Regions from separate parts of the Homo sapiens genome. Here region 2 is linked to region 1. Evidence: promoter capture Hi-C in human tissues and cell types (Jung and others, 2019). All regions are on one chromosome and are shown on one strand. Each heading gives the region's core, a stretch centred on a gene start or on the middle of the fragment in contact. The rest is flanking DNA. Distances are from core to core; before and after follow the strand shown.

Evidence for each region. Contacts are between HindIII fragments. The study calls those that stand out against the background at their distance.
Region 2: a contact is called between a fragment that was not itself captured here and the fragment with the promoter of DRD4 in region 1, in 1 of the 25 tissues and cell types used here (lymphoblastoid cells).

Annotation. Positions count from the first base shown.
Region 1 is chr11:635,817-638,783 of GRCh38, reverse strand. It overlaps DRD4 (dopamine receptor D4), which reads right to left and starts at 1,515. Exons shown (of 4, transcript NM_000797.4): 1 at 1,195-1,515. The coding sequence starts at 1,479. RefSeq lists enhancers at 26-559, 560-1,094, 1,095-1,628, 2,164-2,697, 2,698-2,967 and 1 more. The HindIII fragment of the contact is 8,949 bases long and covers 1,448-2,967 here.
Region 2 is chr11:907,029-909,995 of GRCh38, reverse strand. The region is part of intron 1 of CHID1 (chitinase domain containing 1); the gene reads left to right. Among named protein-coding and RNA genes, the nearest start is that of CHID1, 2.3 kb to the left of the region's middle. The HindIII fragment of the contact is 5,018 bases long and covers 1-2,967 here.

The DNA.
Region 1 (2,967 bases), core at 266-2,765:
CGGCCTGGGGAATTCCCTGGGGGCGGGCCTGATATCATCGGGCTCAAAGGGAGCCCCTCCCCAGCCTGGGGTAGGCAGGGTCCCCGCTGGGCCTAGAAGCGAAGCTGGCTGCTCTGTTGGCTAAGTTCTCTGTGGGAGACTCGGGCACGTTAATTCATTTCTGTTTCTTCATCTGTAAGACAAGGGTGATGATAGTATCCACATCATAATTGTCTTGAAGATAAATTATAATTAAAAATATGAAGACCGTGCCCAGTGCCCAGCGTAGGACTCCACGTGGAGTGACTCTCTCCAAGGGCAAAGGAGCAGGCAGCCCCTCTAATCCTTCCCGCCGATTTGGGGAGATTAGGAGCTTAAACGTCGTCACTGTGACGTCTGCGGCTCGAAAGGAGCACAGGTCACGCGTGTCCCGTGCTGCTGGTCTCTGCCCCAGCCGCCTGGATTCACTGTGTCCATCAAGGGGAAACCTCGAGTCCCCCTCCCCCACAGTCGGGGACACCGCGTCTCCAGCTCAGCCCTAAGCTGCTTTTCTCTGGCCGCAGAGGGGCTGGCACCAAGGCCGACCCACTCGAGGGCCAGACCTGGTGTGGAGTGTGGGCTCCATCCCCCAATTCCCCCTCAGGCTTCCCCCCAGGGTTCTCAGCAGGGGCCTGGTCCCCACACACCCTCCCCTCCCCTGGGTTTTGTCCAGCCCAGGTCTCCCCTGCGAGCTGTGAGCCTCCTTCTGGGGGTGTGCCAGCATCTGCACTAGGTGTGTGTGGTGGGCAGTGGCTGTGGCAGTGTGTGTGTGTGTGTGTCCCACGGCAGCCAGGGGGCTGAGCCTGCATCTGCCTGTCTGTCCAGCTGGCTGCCCTGGAGGTGAAATCCAGCTACGGAGGGGACTGGGCTTGACAAAGTCGCCTGTTTCCGGGGTCCCTGGATAGAAGGACGGGCATCTCCTGGATAACAGACGCCAAGACAGACGGGGAAGGAGAAGAGGAACGAGGGTCGGGGGACAGACAGCGCAGCGGGTGGAAGGTCGCGAGGTGGCGGCGGTGGGTGTATCGCCGAGGGACAAGGCGCAGCGCCCCTGCCGCCGCCCCAGCTGGAAGCTCCGCACCAGAAAGGGGCCGGGTCGCGCCGGGTCCTCCGTAGGGACAGGGACGGGGAACCGAGGAGCAGGTGAGGATGCTCGTGCGGCCGGACGCGGCTCACCTCGGAGTAGACGAAGAGCGGCAGCACCAGGAGAGCGAGGAGGAGGTCGGCGGCCGCCAGGCTCACGATGAAGGAGTTGGTGGGCGTCTGCAGGGCGCGCTCGGTGGCCACGCTCACGCACACGAGCGAGTTCCCCGCGAGCACCGCGCCGATGAGCAGCACGCCCCCCACCAGCGCCGCCGCGCCCTGCCCAGCCAGCCCCGCAGATGCCCCCGCAGATGCCCCCGCGGCCGGCCCGCGCCCAGCCAGCAGCCCGTCCGCGTCCGCGGTGCTGCGGTTCCCCATGGCGCGCCCGGGCGGGCGCTGAGCACCGCGGACAACGCCGGGTCGCAAGCCGGGGAGTCCCTCCCCTCGGGCACGCCCCGGCCGGACCCTGGTCCCGCCCCCGACCCGCCCCGGCTCAGGGGGGCCCCCGCGGCGCTCCACCGTGAGCCCAGTATTTGCTCATCTTGGAATTTTGCGCAGGGAGAGACGGGCACGTGGACGAATGCGGCGGCCCAAAGAGACGGGAATGAAGCGAGGTGGTGGCCACGGGCAGGCCAGCATCGCCCGGCGCCGCGCGGGGTCCGCGACCCGAGAAACCGACAAGGATGGAGGGGCGGCCAGACCAGGCCCTGAAGCGCGCGGGCATCGACGCCAGCGCCATCCTACCCGGCCCGTGCGTGCGTCCCGGCCCTCGGGCGCTCACCCTAGTCCACCTGGTATCTGGCAAAACCTCCCTCCCAGGCCCGTTCCGCCAGACGCAGAAAGACCTGAGCTCAGGCTCTGCCCGCCTCCCCCGCGGACTCGCCTCGACCTCGTGCGCACCCTCCACGCCCGCTCCCCCTGCCCCCGACTCCGCGCCCGACTCAACCGCCGACGCCTAGCTCATCCCGCCGCCCCCCCCCCGCAGCCTCTGGCCCTCAGCCCCCGCGACCACCACGGTCAGCCGCGGCCCCACCCGTTGCACAGTTGATCCTCGCGTGGCCGCCTCCGAAACTGGGCGGACAGCTGAGCGGTCGACCCCGCTCCCTCCTCCATTCCCTCCGGCCCAAGACCGTGAGCTAGGTAGGCGCCCCTCTGACCCTGGGCAGGGGGTCCCGGGACCGGACAGTAGGTTCGGCTCGCGAGGAGGCCAGGAGAAAGACACGACAGGCCGGGGTAGGTTCCAAACGTGCAGAAGAGAAAGTGCTTGCAAAGCGCAGCAGAGAATTCTATGGACTCTTCACCAAAGAGGGGTGACCTGTGACCTGAGAGGTATTTTCTGTAGTCTGTCACTAAGGGGCCTAGAAGACACTAAAAGGGGGCACCACTCTGTGGGACCCCAGGCGGCGCACATCCTGATGCTCTAGTCTGTTTCTGGGAGGCCTGGAGTGGAGGGGCTGTGCCAGGAATTGAGGCCCCTGACCTCGAAGGTCTGGAGGACACGGGCTAGACGGAGGCGCTGACAGGGCGTGCGTTAAAGGGAGAAATGAGGACTCTGAGAAGGAGCAGGCACCGTGAGCCTCACAGGACAAGGTCACGGGGCTGCGGGGGAAGGGCCTGCACCAGGGACAGGTGTGCACAGGCATCAGGTGCGGCCGCAGCCAGGCTCAGTCCCTCTTGTGCAGATCAGTCTGCTGCCCTTGTGAACCCTTGAGCAAAAGAAGTCACCACAGGAGAGACCACCAGGGACAGGTGTGCACAGGCATCAGGTGCGGCCGCAGCCAGGCTCAGTCCCTCTTGTGCAGATCAGTCTGCTGCCCTTGTGAACCCTTGAGCAAAAGAAGTCACCACAGGAGAGACTGGGACAGT
Region 2 (2,967 bases), core at 327-2,826, 270 kb before region 1:
CCTCCGCTTCTGGGCTTAAGGGATTTTCCTGCCTCAGTCTCCCGAGTTGCTGGGAGTACAGGCGCACACCACTGCACCCAGCTAATTTTTGTATCTTTTTTAGAGACTGGGTTTCATCACGTTGGCCAGGCTGGTCTTGAACTCCTGATGGGGTGATCTGCCCGGCAGAAAAATATTTTTTGTAGAGACCAGGTCTGGCTGTGTTGCCAAAACCAGTCAAAAACTCCTGGCCTCCCAAAGTGCTAGGATCACAGGCCAGAGCCGCCATGCACCAGTTAGTTCTTCAAAACACAACAGAACAGGAGTTGTCAGTGCGTCCATCGCAGAATAGAGTTAGCTCTGATTGGCTGCTGTCGCTCTACACATGTACACACATGCACAACACATGTGCACACATGACATACACGTGTGCTGGGCTGTGACGTAAAGTGCATTTCTTACTGCTGGTCTCCATGAAAAGCATTGGAAAGCCCCTGCTGTGACTCCCATCATTTCCATCAACACCACCGAGGAGGTCCTGGACCTACGGACTGGGAGCGCAGGAAAGTGGGAGCAGTAGCGCTCCACCTTATCTTGTTACAGAGCGGTTTCTGGGACCCCTTTGGGTGACCAGGGTCGGGGCCTGTGCCTCTTCATAACACAACACATTCCCTTTGTGTGCGGGGCCGTTCTGCCCAAGGGAAGGTCATTGGCATTTGGGGAAGAAACGGTTTGATGCAGGAACACAGTGTGTGTGAACCTGGGAGTCTGTGTTATGTGAAGAGCATGATGGAGAGTGTCCTCACGGGCCTCAGAGCCGAGCGGCCGGTGAGCAGTGGGGAGCGGGAGAGGTACCAAAGCCCAGACAAGGGCCTGGTTGCAGTGTGAGCACCCCTCACACATCACACACACCATCTCCCTGGGGCAGTTGTCTGGAAAGTTCCATGGCAAGTCAAAGAAGCAGCCCAGCATTTGTGAGCAGCCTGTATCCAAGCACTCCATCACAGAGCGGGCAAGTTAAGCGCGAGTGGACAGAGGCAGTACCCTGGCCTTGTGTTCAGTTAGGTTCTCCTAGTGTCCCCTCTGCTGGACACATGCTGGCAGGACTGTCTTCCTCTTCCACCCTTTCCTCTTCCTTCCCTGAAGTGTGAAATCACAGGTTGGGGGGCAGGGAGGTCATAGGCAGAGGGGCCACTAGGTGGGTGGACAGTGGCCCTGTTTCAAATCTGCAGGACGGCAGGTAGGGGCAGAGACCCAGCCCTATAGTGGTTGGTCACTGGGTACCTGAGTGTGCCCTCCAGTTACTCCTGGGCCAGTCCCCTGGAGAACCACCGTTTGGTTTTTCATTCCTTTCCTTCCTCCCTGACCCAGATTTCCACCCAGAAGACAGAGAAGGAGCCAGTGGTCATGGAATGGGCTGGGGTCAAAGACTGGGTGCCTGGGAGCTGAGGCAGCCACCGTTTCAGCCTGGCCAGGCAAGTGATTCTGGGCCGTCTTCCCTGTGCCATGGCCAGAACCCTCCCCACCTTCCCTGGGGCTGTTGCTGACTCAGACCAAGCCTCAGCTGCAGCAGAAAGATAGTGGGGCTAAGGGGAGGTGGCAGCAGGCTGCTGCCCTTGGTTCTGATTCTGGGATGTATCACTGAGGAGAGGGGCTGGAGAGGTTGATCGGGGCAGAGGGTGGTGATCTGTGCCTGGGCCTTCTTATTCCCCCTGCACAGCCTCTCGGAACTGCCGTGGCTGTTCAAGCACTCACTGCCTTTGCCTGTGGCTCCATGTACTGGGTGCTGCTGTGCTTGCCCTGTGAGTTCCCTTCCTAACTCCCCATAAGCCTGCAGGTCAGGCTGTCTTGTGGCTCCCTGCCTCCTAGGTGGGGGAGCTTCACTGGTTGATCTTGCTCCAGGAGCGTGTTCTTTCTATGCAGGTGTGTTGTGGGTGTATTGGGTACCAAAGCATGCAAACTCCCTGCCTGGGGGTAGCCACAGTCTCCTCAGTCTGCACCAGGAGCACCAGTCTCACCCAGGGAAGAGACAGGGCAAAGTGGGGCAGCGTGTGCCTCTGCAGAAGAAAGCAGGTCAAGGGGACGGTTTCAGAGGAAGTGAAAACAGGTTCCTGGCCAGGGAGTCTTTTGGGTAGGAGGGTAGGCACTGTGGTAGGCCTGGCTCTGGCAGCATCTTCTGACAGGTGCACCTGCCTGGCTGGGGTTCCTGGAGCCTCTTGGGCCTGAGCTCCCATATACTCAGGAGCCTGTGACCCAAGGGGAAGGCCATGTGCCCAGCTGCTGGGTAGTGAGTTGGGCTGAGCTCCCCACCTGTCAGGTATCTGCCTCTGCCCAGGCTGTGTGGGCCTCTCAGCTGGTCTAGAGGGGTCTGTGCTGCCAGAGCTGTGAAACTAGCCAAGAGCTTCTTCCCAGCAGTGTCCCAAAGCTTCATGAAGGACTAACAGTCTGGCTGGGCTATGGTGGTGGTTCAGCTCCCACCGCCGCTGCCCCCAACCCCAGTGAAAGATAGAAAGTAGAATCACTTTTTTTTTTTTTTTAAAGACAGTCTCGCACCGTCGCCCAGGCTGGAGTGCACTGGCACTATCTCGGCTCACTGCGAACTCCACCTCCTGGATTCACACCATTCTCCTGCTTCAGCCTCTCGAATAGCTGGGACTACAGGCGCCTGCCACCATGCCTGGCTAATTTTTTGTATTTTTAGCAGAGATGGGGTTTCACCGTGTTAGCCAGGATGGTCTCGATCTCCTGACCTCGTGATCTGCCCGCTTCGGCCTCCCAAAGTGCTGGGATTACAGGCGTGAGCCACCGCGCCCGGCCGGAAAGTAGAATCACTTTTGTTGGTGGCCCCTAGAACCTGAAAGTGAACAGTGTAATAAAAGTTTAGTGCAGGAAGACCAGAAGATACAGATAAAGTAAAAGAGAAGAAACAATGACCAGTAATTCCAGATAGCCTGCTCATTTATTTTTTGTTTTGTTTCTTTGTTTTTG